Linked DNA regions of Homo sapiens: region 1 is linked to region 2. Evidence: promoter capture Hi-C in 16 types of primary human blood cells and fetal thymus (Javierre and others, 2016). All regions are on one chromosome and are shown on one strand. The core of a region is centred on a gene start or on the middle of the fragment in contact, and the rest is flanking DNA. Distances in the headings are between cores, read along the strand shown.

Evidence for each region. Contacts are between HindIII fragments. The CHiCAGO score rates a contact against its expected background, and 5 or more counts as called.
Region 1: a fragment that was not itself captured here is called in contact with the fragment with the promoter of BTBD1 in region 2 in 1 of 17 cell types (naive CD8 T cells); the score reaches 5.7 in naive CD8 T cells.

Annotation. Positions count from the first base shown.
Region 1 is chr15:80,992,101-80,997,273 of GRCh38, reverse strand. No RefSeq gene overlaps it. Among named protein-coding and RNA genes, the nearest start is that of MIR4514, 2.8 kb to the left of the region's middle. The HindIII fragment of the contact is 7,858 bases long and covers 1-5,173 here.
Region 2 is chr15:83,065,576-83,071,116 of GRCh38, reverse strand. It overlaps BTBD1 (BTB domain containing 1), which reads left to right and starts at 3,865. Exons shown (of 8, transcript NM_025238.4): 1 at 3,865-4,366. The coding sequence starts at 3,966. MIR4515 (microRNA 4515) reads right to left here and starts at 3,782; the gene lies at 3,702-3,782. RefSeq lists silencers at 1,732-1,781, 3,658-4,137, 4,378-4,547 and enhancers at 1,686-1,980, 3,418-3,467, 3,478-3,597. The HindIII fragment of the contact is 13,987 bases long and covers 3,117-5,541 here.

The DNA.
Region 1 (5,173 bases), core at 1,646-4,145, 2.1 Mb after region 2:
GAAATGTTTAATCTTGCCCAACTGAAACTCCATACCCATTAAGTAACTGCTCCCCACTCCCCCTTCCTCCAGTCCCTGGCAACCACCATTCTACTTTCTCTATGAATTTGACTACCCTAGGTACCTCATGTTAGTGGAACCATACAATATTTGTTATTTTGTGCCTGGCTTATTTCACTTAACATAATATCTTTTTTTTTTTTTTTTTTTTTTTTGAGACGAGGTCCGGCTCTGTCTCCCAGGCTAGAGCACAGTGGCGCGATCTCGGCTCACTGCAAGCTCCGCCTCTCGGGTTCATGCCATTCTCCTGCCTCAGCCTCCCGAGTAGCTGGGACTGCAGGCACCCACCACCACACGCAGCTAATTTTTTTTTGTATTTTTAGTAGAGACGGGGTTTCACTGTGTTAGCCAGGATGGTCTCGATCTCCTGACCTCGTGATGCGCCTGCCTTGGCCTCCCAAAGTGCTGGGATTACAGGCATGAGCCACGTGCCCAGCCTTAACATAATGTCTTTAAGATTCATTGATATTATAGCATACATGGGAATTTCCCTTCTTTTTTATGGGTGAACGGTATTCCATTGTAAGCACTCCGGATCTTTTCATTCTATCAAAAATTTATTTATTTATTTATTTAGTAGCGAGAAAGTCTCAGAGACACAGTCTCACTTTGATATCCAGACTGGTCTCACACCCTTGGCCTCAAGTGGTCCTCTCACCTTAGCCTCCCAAAGTGCTGAGATTACAGGTGTGAGCCTGTCTGGCCACTCTGGGTTTTGATACCCAACTTTCACACTACCCCACACTTTACAGACCAACAACCATGCTGTGTTTGGTCTGTAGTGCCACCTGTTGGTCAGTAAGAGGCATTCTCTGCCCTAATTATTTTTCCCTTTGGAGCAATGTCCCTCTGTTTTGCTTTTGTGCACACAGATGGGCCAATTACATCTCAGGCTATCTTTCTTATACATATGCATTATTTCCCTTTCACTATCTGTTGTAAAAGAGAGGAATTTATATCTCTCCTTCTTTTCCCCAGATTCCTTCATTGTCATAGGTGATGCATGACAACAGCCCCTGGTTCACCAGGGAGCAAGATCACTGTCTAACACCTCGCTCTCCTTACCTGGCATGTCCTCTTGCTCTCTGGCATATTTTGTTCCCATCCAGTAAGAACACCTGGGCAGTACCTCACACATCACTCCCATTTCCTCCCCAGCCCCACTTTCCACCCTCCCTTCCTCCCTCCATGCTTTCTCTCTGTTCACCTGCAGCTGGGTGTGTGAGGGAGCCCTGTGTGCTGGACCAGTTATACCTTGGCAGGCACACCTGAGCATGCAGGTCCTGAAGTCTAGGAGAGCTGGAATTTTCTGCATTAGTTTACCAGAGCACCCTCCATGGAGGCAAAGTTTGCTTGCACAGATTAATAAATTCTGTACCCCATTCATTTACTGGCCAGCCATCTTTGGATGTATTTTCTATTTTCCAGCATCCTGAAGAAGAGAAAAAACAAGTGCTAAGTTTCAGGCACCCTGGTCTTAACACTAATCATGCCTGACCAAGTTTTGACATCTCTCATGGTGCCTAGTAGTCAGTAACTACAGAGTGATTAGATGTATTGGTGCCTCACAAGGAGGTTCCCTGATCTTTCAGACAGACCCAGGTATTTCTTCCCCCCCTTGTAGCTACTATGATGCCTGCTCAGCTTCAGAGTGGCGTCAAGTACTTGTAACTGTTGGTGTAACTCTCTCCACAACCCTATCATCTCTGTAAGGGCAGGGACTTGATCTATGCATCTTTCCCCCACATTTAATGTATTCAGTGTTTATGGCATTAATAAGTTAATGAATTATTTTATCTGTTAAGTCTCTGTGCAAGAAAGGTGCCCTTTTATTGAACCAAACTCTGGCTGCTCACAACTTTTATTCAGTAACGGACAGAAAGTCATGGATATTCATGAAACAACAGCAGGGGTACAGTCTAGGTCTGGTCATGACCTAACAGCTCACAACTCTTAAGATTGAAGGGGAGGCCTGAGGCCTGTTTGCTTAGCAAGTGTGTTCACCTCATTTTTCTTACAGCTTGTTTGAGATAGTCCAGGGAGGTGATTCTTTGGAAACAGACTGAATTTTCTGAACATAACTGCATATATCTGTGCTGCAAAGTACATGTAATTTTTTCAGATGACACAGATAAAAGTCCTGCCTTCTTCAGAGATTCAGATCTCATCCCCAAATTTTCAAGGCCATTGCACTATTGTAGATAATTTGAATTACATGTATTATTCTGATAATTTCCATTGAAATTAGACTTTTCACCCTTACATATTGGTGGAAAGAAGGGTATCAATTCACATTTTGTAAGCAGCAGTGTGTTTATGTGTGTCTCTCCTTTTAAAGCACAAGTGGGCCAGGCGCGGCAGTTCCCGCCTATAATTCCAGCACTCTGGCAGGGCGAGGTGGATGGATCACTTGTGCCCAAAAGTTCTAGACCAGCTTGGGCAACATGGTGAAAACCCATCCTTTAAAAAAAAAAAAATGCACTTTGGGAGGCCAAGGCGGGTGGATCACGAGGTTAGGAGTTCAAGACCAGCCTGGCCAACATGGTGAAACCCCTGTCTCTACTAAAAATACAAAAATTAGCCGGACATGGTGGCATGTGCCTGTAATCCCAGCTACTCAGGAGGCTGAGGCAGGACAATTGCTTGAACTGGGGCCCGGGAGGCAGAGGTTGCAGTGAGCTGAGATCGCACCACTGCACTCCAGCCTGGGCTACACAGTGCAACTCTGTCTCAAAAAAGAAAAAAAAATGCAAAAATTAGCCAGGTGTGGTATGGGAGGCTGAGGCGGGAGGATCCCTTGAGCCTGAGAGGTGGAGGTTGCAGAGAGCCAATATCTGGCCGCTGCACTCCAGTCTGGGTGACAGAGCAAGACCCTGTCTCAAAAAAACAAACAAACAAAAACAACACACCACCACTGACGTATGTTAGATGTGAAGAAAAATAGAAAATACAGAGAAAAGGTTAAAATATTTTGGAATCTCACTGCTTAGAGACAGCCATCGTATACATATTTGCAGCTCTTTTCCTATACATAGATATATATCTGTATAATTTTAATAGCATTTAAAATCATATAGTATAAAATGAATATCTTTAGTAGCAACAAATATATATATTTGATTGCATATTATCCATCATATGTGTGGAATACAGCTTGCAACTGTAAATGTAGATTTTATAGTCTACAATTTTTGAAACACTTAGAGTTGTTCTCATTTTCCCCACTCATGGAGAGTGTTATAGGATTGTTACATTGGGTAAGTGAAGAAATACACGGAAAGCACTCAGCAGAATGCCTGTCGAATAGTAAGTGCTCAATATTAACATTACTATTATTTTCATTGTCTGTTTCCTCAGAGTCAAGTTCTTGGAAGTAGACTTGCTAATCATATTATGCACTTTTTTGTGGGGAGGGGGAGTTGATACATTTCACCTAATTTTCAAGCAGAAAACTCCATCCCCCGAGAAGTGAGTGAGAAGACTTCTTTCCTTAGCCTTGTCAACAGTGTATACTGTCTGTATTTTTATCCAGGATCAACTGATAATTTAAAAATTATAACATGTTTGAATTTGCATTTTTTGATATTAGAGAGATTCTGTGTTTTGTTTTGTTTTTGCCACATGTGAACTGGCCATTTATATTTATTCTTTTGGGAATTACCTATTCATGTCCTAGACCGTTTTTCATTTGGTTGTTCATCTTTTTCTTATTGATTTATAAGTTGTTTTTTTTTTTTGGAGACAGAGTGTTACTCTGTCACCCAGGCTAGAGTGCAGTGGCACAACCTCGGCTCACTGCCACCTCTGCCTCCCGGGTTCAAGCAATTCTCCTGCCTCAGCCTCCCGAGTAGCTGGGATTACAGGTGCATGCCACCACACCCAGCTAATTTTTGTATTTTTAGTAGAGACGGGGTTTCACCATCTTGGCCAGGCTGGTCTCAAACTCCTGACCTCAGGCGATCTGCCCGCCTCAGCCTCCCAAAGTGCTGGGATTATAGGCATGAGCCACCATGCCCAGCCAGGAAAACACAATTTTAATTATTATGTTTAACTCTGTGAGTATGCTCTTCTGCCCAAAAATAATGGTGGTGACCAGGAATGGACACCTGCCTCAGACTGGGCCAGTCACATTCTCTACTGAAAATCTGAAATTCCAACAAAAGGCAACGAGTTAGTTGCTACCAATATTTAGCAACTACAATGAATGATTCGTGTCTATGTAATTAAATTTTTTAAGTGAGTAAATTTAGGGGCTGGTAAAACCCAGGAAGTATGCAGTACGTCTATTCTTACATTGGATTAAAAAGCAACAAAAGTGCAAAATGGTAAATACTCATTACCTCTCTCAGCCCATCCCCAGGCCTCTCCTCCTATGCCTTCCCATGAGTCAGTCATTAGAGGGTTAATGTTTGGCACAATGGTGACTGTACCCATCAGCTCATCTGCCTCAGTTCTGATTAACTGGTAATTGTGCTACTCCAGTTTTTCAACATTTTGAATATTACCCCCGCCTGCTTCCAAATAGTACTAGAAAGTCTTGCTTCACCCTCCTCTGTTGTGGAATGATGCATGCCAGGATGAGCTCAGGTTAAGACACTAATTAGATCTGAGATTCAACTTTACCATCCACAGTCACTGAATCACTTAGAGGTGGGGTTAGTATTAACCCCAGAGCACTGAAGAGACTTGTGGCTTCACTTAGGCCATGAGCACACAATCTTTCACATCTGTCCTCTCCAGTCTACACTGCACCACCTGGTACCTGGCACAGACTCTTGTCCCATCTGAGTGCTCCTCGCTCCAGACTTTTCAATGCATTTTCCATTTGGCTCCCAATTTAACCATCCTGAGTGCCTCACTGATTAACCTAGATGGTGCTGTGGCGGAAGAAGGACTCCAAGAAGACTGGACCTTGTTATCCAGTACACCTCGGCTTAGATTCTTGCCTTGCCGCTGCACTAGCTGTGCAGCCTCAGACAAATTGTGTAATTGTAAAACCAGGATTTCCTCTTATTTAAATTGGAGAGATTATCATCATCATCACATCATCCCTTTGGGCCCGGATCTCCTGTAATCTGCATGAAATTTACTGCATATTGTTTATCTGCTCTGC
Region 2 (5,541 bases), core at 2,616-5,115:
TGTTGTTTTCAGAACTGTGCCTGATCTCTCTCTCCTGTTGCAATGCTTCCACTGCAATCATCTTGAATAAAATCTTTCTTACCATTTTAACTAGTGTCAGAATAATTTTTTTCTTTCTTCTTTTTTTTTTTTTGAGATGGAGTCTTGCTCTGTTGCCCAGGCTGGAGTGCAGCGGCACGATCTTGGCTCCCTGCAACCTCTGCCTCCCAGGTTCAAACGATTCTCCTGCCTCAGCCTCCCAAGTAGCTGGGATTACAGGCGTATGTCACCACACCCGGTTAATTTTTGTATTTTTAGTAGACATGGGGTTTCACCATGTTAGCCAGGCTGGTCTCAAACCCTAACCTCAGGTGATCTGCCTGCCTTGTCCTTCCAAAGTGCTGGGATTACAGGCGTGCGCCACTGCAACAGCCCAGAATAATTTTTTTCTTTAACAATGCCTTCAAACAGTTGTTTACACACACACACACACACACACACACACACACACACTCCAGCTTGTATAGTTGTTTTTGGTGGGAGGGTTAGACAAGTTGGTACATTATGGCTGAAACTGGAAGTCTACTTACTTCTATAACAAACATGTATTATTTTAAACATTTCCTTTAAAACAATAATAACATGTTTAACGAGCTCATCTGGAACCAGTCTTCCCTGAAGGTTATTATTTTGAAAGTTTTAATGTCCTGTATAGATAATTGAATTGTCCAGGTTTTCTAGACGAGTACATTCCTTTGATATTTTCAAAGCCACTAATAGAATTACTCATATTTTTAAACTCCACAATTATGTTTATATATCCTTTCTTATGTCCAATTCTATGTTTTTTAATCTCTTTCCTTTTAAACTAGCTAGTATAGTATACTATAGAGTGTGATCTATGAAAGGCCTGCATTAGAATACCTGGGATGACACTTAAAAGTAGTAAGTGAATTAATTTTCTGAATCATCAATGGATACTGAAATCAGTAGGTGAAAGCTTTTTGGGGAAACAGACTGGTCAAACAGTCTCAGAGCATCACCCTCATGGATTACTTATTACATAAGAATCATACACCTTCATAATGGAGGGATCTGACAGTCACAGCCTCACCAGGTCATCAAGCTTAGCATCACCAACATACGCTTTCTGAAGTGAGGCAATGAAGTACTTAACATCACCAGCATATTCTTGCCTAAAATGTTTAACCTGGAATCTAACCATGAATCATACAGAATCCACCAGACAAATCCAGATTGTGGAGCATTATACTCCACAATTCCCCGGACCTTCAAAGAAGTCAACACAGTCAATAATATGTGAACATTGATTTGATCCTGGATTGGAAAAAAAGTCATCTGTGAAAGATATTTTTGGCCAGGCACAGTGGCTCATGCCTGTAATCCCAGCACTTTGGGAGGCCAAGGTGGGCAGATCATAAGGTCAGTAGATTGAGACCATCCTGGCTAACACGGTGAAACCCCGTCTCTACTAATGACAGGTGAAGCCAACTGGACTTCTGGGTAGGGTGAGGACTTGAAGAACTTTTCTGTCTTACAAGTGGTTTGTAAAATGTGCCAGTCAGTGCTCTGTAAAAACACACCAATCAGCACTCTGTGGCTAGCTAGAGGTTTGTAAAATGGACCAATCAGCACTCTGTAAAGTGGACCAATCAGCACTCTGTAAAATGGACCAATCAGCATTCCGTAAAATGGACCAATCAGCACCCTGTAAAATAGACCAATCAGCACTCTGTAAAGTGCACCAATCAGCATTCTGTAAAATGGACCAATCAGCAGGACATGGGCGGGGACAAATAAGGAAGTAAAAGCTGACTCCACCCCCCCCACCCCCGCCGGCCCCTCCCCTCCTGCCCCCACGCCCAGAGACTGCAACCACCCGTTGGGGTTCCTTTCCATGACATAAGGGCTTTGTTCTTTTGCTCTTCAGAAGAAGTCTTTGGGTCCCTGCCATCTTAAGAGCTATAAAACTCATCAGGAAGGTCCACAGCTCCATTCTTGAAGTCAGCAAGACCACGAACCCACCAGAAGGAACGAACTCTGGACACACTAAAAATACAAAAAAAAAAAAAAATCAGCAGGCTTGGTGGCAGGTGCCTGTAGTCCCAGCTACTCGGGAGGCTGAGACAGGAGAATGGCGTGAACGTGGGAGGCAGAGCTTGCAGTGAGCGGAGATCATGCCACTGCCCTCCAGCCTGGGCAACAGAGCAAGACTCCGTCTCAAAAAAAAATTTTTTTAGAGACAAGTGGAGAAACAAATATTAACTGTACATTAAATATTATACATAGGACCAGGCCTGGTGGCTCATGCCTGTAATCCCAGCACTTTGGGAGGCCGAGGCGGGTAGATCACGAGGTCAGGACTTGGAGAGGAGCCTGGCCAATATGGTGAAACCCCGTCTCTACTAAAAATACAAATAATTAGCTGGATGTGGTGACACGCACCTGTAACCCCAGCTACTCGGGAGGCTGAGGAGGAGAATCGCTTGAGCCCGGAAGGCAGACTTCATGCCATTGCACTCCAGCTTTGGCAACAGAGCGAGACTCCGTCTCAAAAAAAAAAAAATCATATATAGATGATTTGATGATATGGTTAATTTTGTTAGGTGTGATAATGGTATCATTAGTAGCATGATGTCCCTTTGTCTTTAGGAATTGCCGGCTGGCAATGGGGAAGGGGTTGTGCATCCACTATTTCAGCCCCTACTACTTTAAGTCTCTTCCCAAGCACGTTCCTCTCCCAAAGAAGTTACCATTCTAAATGCCTAACAGCTGGAAGTCCCCTCTGGTGGTTTCACAAGTGGAGTGATTTTACAGGAGAAACCCAGGTTTGGGGTTTACTATTTACTTGACGGCATTTGTAATCTGTAAGGCTCTTCCTGCAAAGAACAGGTGTTTCCAACTATACGTGCCTGGTCAAGGACTATTTCTTGGGTTTTCTACGTTCTGCTTTTGACAGCTGACTTAACTCAGGGCCTGCCTCACTGAAGGGAGAAAAAGGAAGGCCTCGGTCCCCCAATCATGATGACCGGGTTGTAAATACTGCCTGGGAAGGGATAATACAGCCTTTTCCATTGTGTGTGTGTTTTAGTTTTTAATTTTTTAAATTTCAAGCTTAGGCAGTGGTTCAGTGCAAGGACTGAAAAGCGCTACAAGAGAAGGTGGGCAAGCACGAGGGGTTTCAAATACAGGGGTGGAAGCAGTAGAAGGAAATGTCTCTTAGGCCCAGAGGACGGAACCAAAGGGTCAATTAGAAGGGAAAGGGACCTGCGGACCTGGGGAGAGGTCACTGGGGTTCTAAGCCTTCCACCTCTGCTTCCGGAATTTCCACGGGTTTCGCGGCCTTCTGGAGCGGCGACTTGGCCACGCTTGGGGTACAGGGTTGTGGGAAGTCATGTCATCCCCTCCCTCACGTGTTCCCTTGGCCATACTTTCCTGCCCCTCCACTTCCAGGCAAAACACTCCTCGGGACAGGCCTTGGGACATGTCCCAGATACACAATGGGGGCGCTGGACTTGGTGATAAGGGGCCTGCAGGAAGAAAAAGGCAGCCGTGAGAGCCGCCTGCAGATCCACGATGCATCTTAAAATTACAAATTCTCAGGCCCTACCCCAGACCTACTGAGTCAGAATACCCAGGGCACTGAGCCAGGGGGTGGGTGCCCGTAGGCCCGGCAGCACCCAGCCTGCAGAAGCTCCACCTCCGGGAGCGCTGAGCTAGGACCAGCTCCCCACGCCCCTGCCCTGGGGCTGCCGGGAGTCCAGTCCTGTTACACCTCCCGCGGCCGCGCACAGCGGCAACCCGGGCGTGCGGGGGCGCGCGCGGTCAGGGAGGGGCCTGCGGAGGCGCGAGGCCCCCGGAAGCGCCTTTCCCGGAAGGCAGGGAGGCAGCGCCGGCCTCCGGAGGCGGCCTGGGCGATGGCGGCGGAGTTTTGTCCATAACGTGGGCAACCGCGCAGCTGGAGGATGGCCTCACTCGGGCCTGCCGCAGCTGGGGAGCAGGCGTCGGGGGCTGAGGCGGAGCCGGGCCCCGCGGGGCCGCCGCCGCCGCCCTCACCGTCCTCTCTGGGGCCCCTGCTCCCCCTGCAGCGGGAACCTCTCTACAACTGGCAGGCGACCAAGGCGTCGCTGAAGGAGCGCTTCGCCTTCCTCTTCAACTCGGAGCTGCTGAGCGATGTGCGCTTCGTACTGGGCAAGGGTCGCGGCGCCGCCGCCGCTGGGGGCCCGCAGCGCATCCCCGCCCACCGCTTCGTGCTGGCGGCCGGCAGCGCCGTCTTTGACGCCATGTTCAACGGCGGCATGGCCACCACGTCGGCCGAGATCGAGCTGCCGGACGTGGAGCCCGCAGCCTTCCTGGCGCTGCTGAGGTGAGCGGCAGCGCGGGCCGGGCCGGGCCGGGCCGGGCCGGGCCGGGCCGGGCTGGGAGATCCCCGGGGCCCGGCCTACCCGGACTCCCGGATGACCTTGGGCTGGGCTCTTCTGACCCGCCCGGGGCCTCAGTTTCCTCCCGAGCCGTTGATGCTCCGGAGGGTCGAAATCGAAATCTGTGAACCAGGACGGCTCAGTCGCCAACTAAACGTTAGTGTCTTCATTAGGCAAGCGTGCGTTTTACCATTGAAAGGCGTTTCGCATTCCAATTATGGATTGTCGCTCAGACTTCAGAATTAGACAAGTGGCAAGGATAGAGGGGCAGATCAGGTTGTCCTGATTGCCCATTTGCGAAGTTTTATGTTTTTGTTTGGGGGAAGAGAGTAGTTGAAAAATCTTGCAGGACTGATGTTTTGGGGTTATTGTCACCCCCTTCCCCCCGCTTTTTTTGAGACAAGGTCTTGCTCTGTTGCCCAGGCTGGAATGCTGTAGCGCGATCATGGCTCACTGCAGCCTCGACCTCTCCGGGCTCAGGTGATGCTCCGACCTCAGCCTCCCGAGTATTTGGGACTACAGGCACGCGCCACCACGCCCGGCTAATTTTTTTTATTTTTATTTTTGGTAGAGAGAGGGTTTCACTATGTTGCCCAGGCTGGTCTCGGACTCCTGGGGTCAAGCGATCCGTCCACCTCGGCCTCCCAAAGTGCTGGGATTACAGGCGTGAACCACCGCGCCTGGCCACTTTTTTGTTTTTGTTTTTGTTTTTCATTAACGTATTAGTTGTCAAGACCCAGGAAAGTAAATACGAAAACAGACAAGTGAGGCTTTACCTGCTTTGTGTTTCTACACACAAGGTCACATTTGCTTATAAATGAATCCCTCCCTTGATGTTAGAATTTGCTTGTTGGTTATTTGAGGATAGTAGATTGACATCTAATGAAAAGGTGATTGTTTGGCATTACTAGCTTTTAATCACAGCCATCCTGTTAGGGAGGCGTAAGAATTGTTTACCCCAATTTCACAAATGGGACTGAGGCCCAGAAGAGTCAAGTATCTTGCCCAAGGTAACAAACAGCTAACTCACACTGAAGACCATGTCTGTTTCATTATACTAAGATGGTTTTAAATAGCTGCCTGAGTAGAACGTGTTGTTATTAAAATGGCAGAGTCTTGG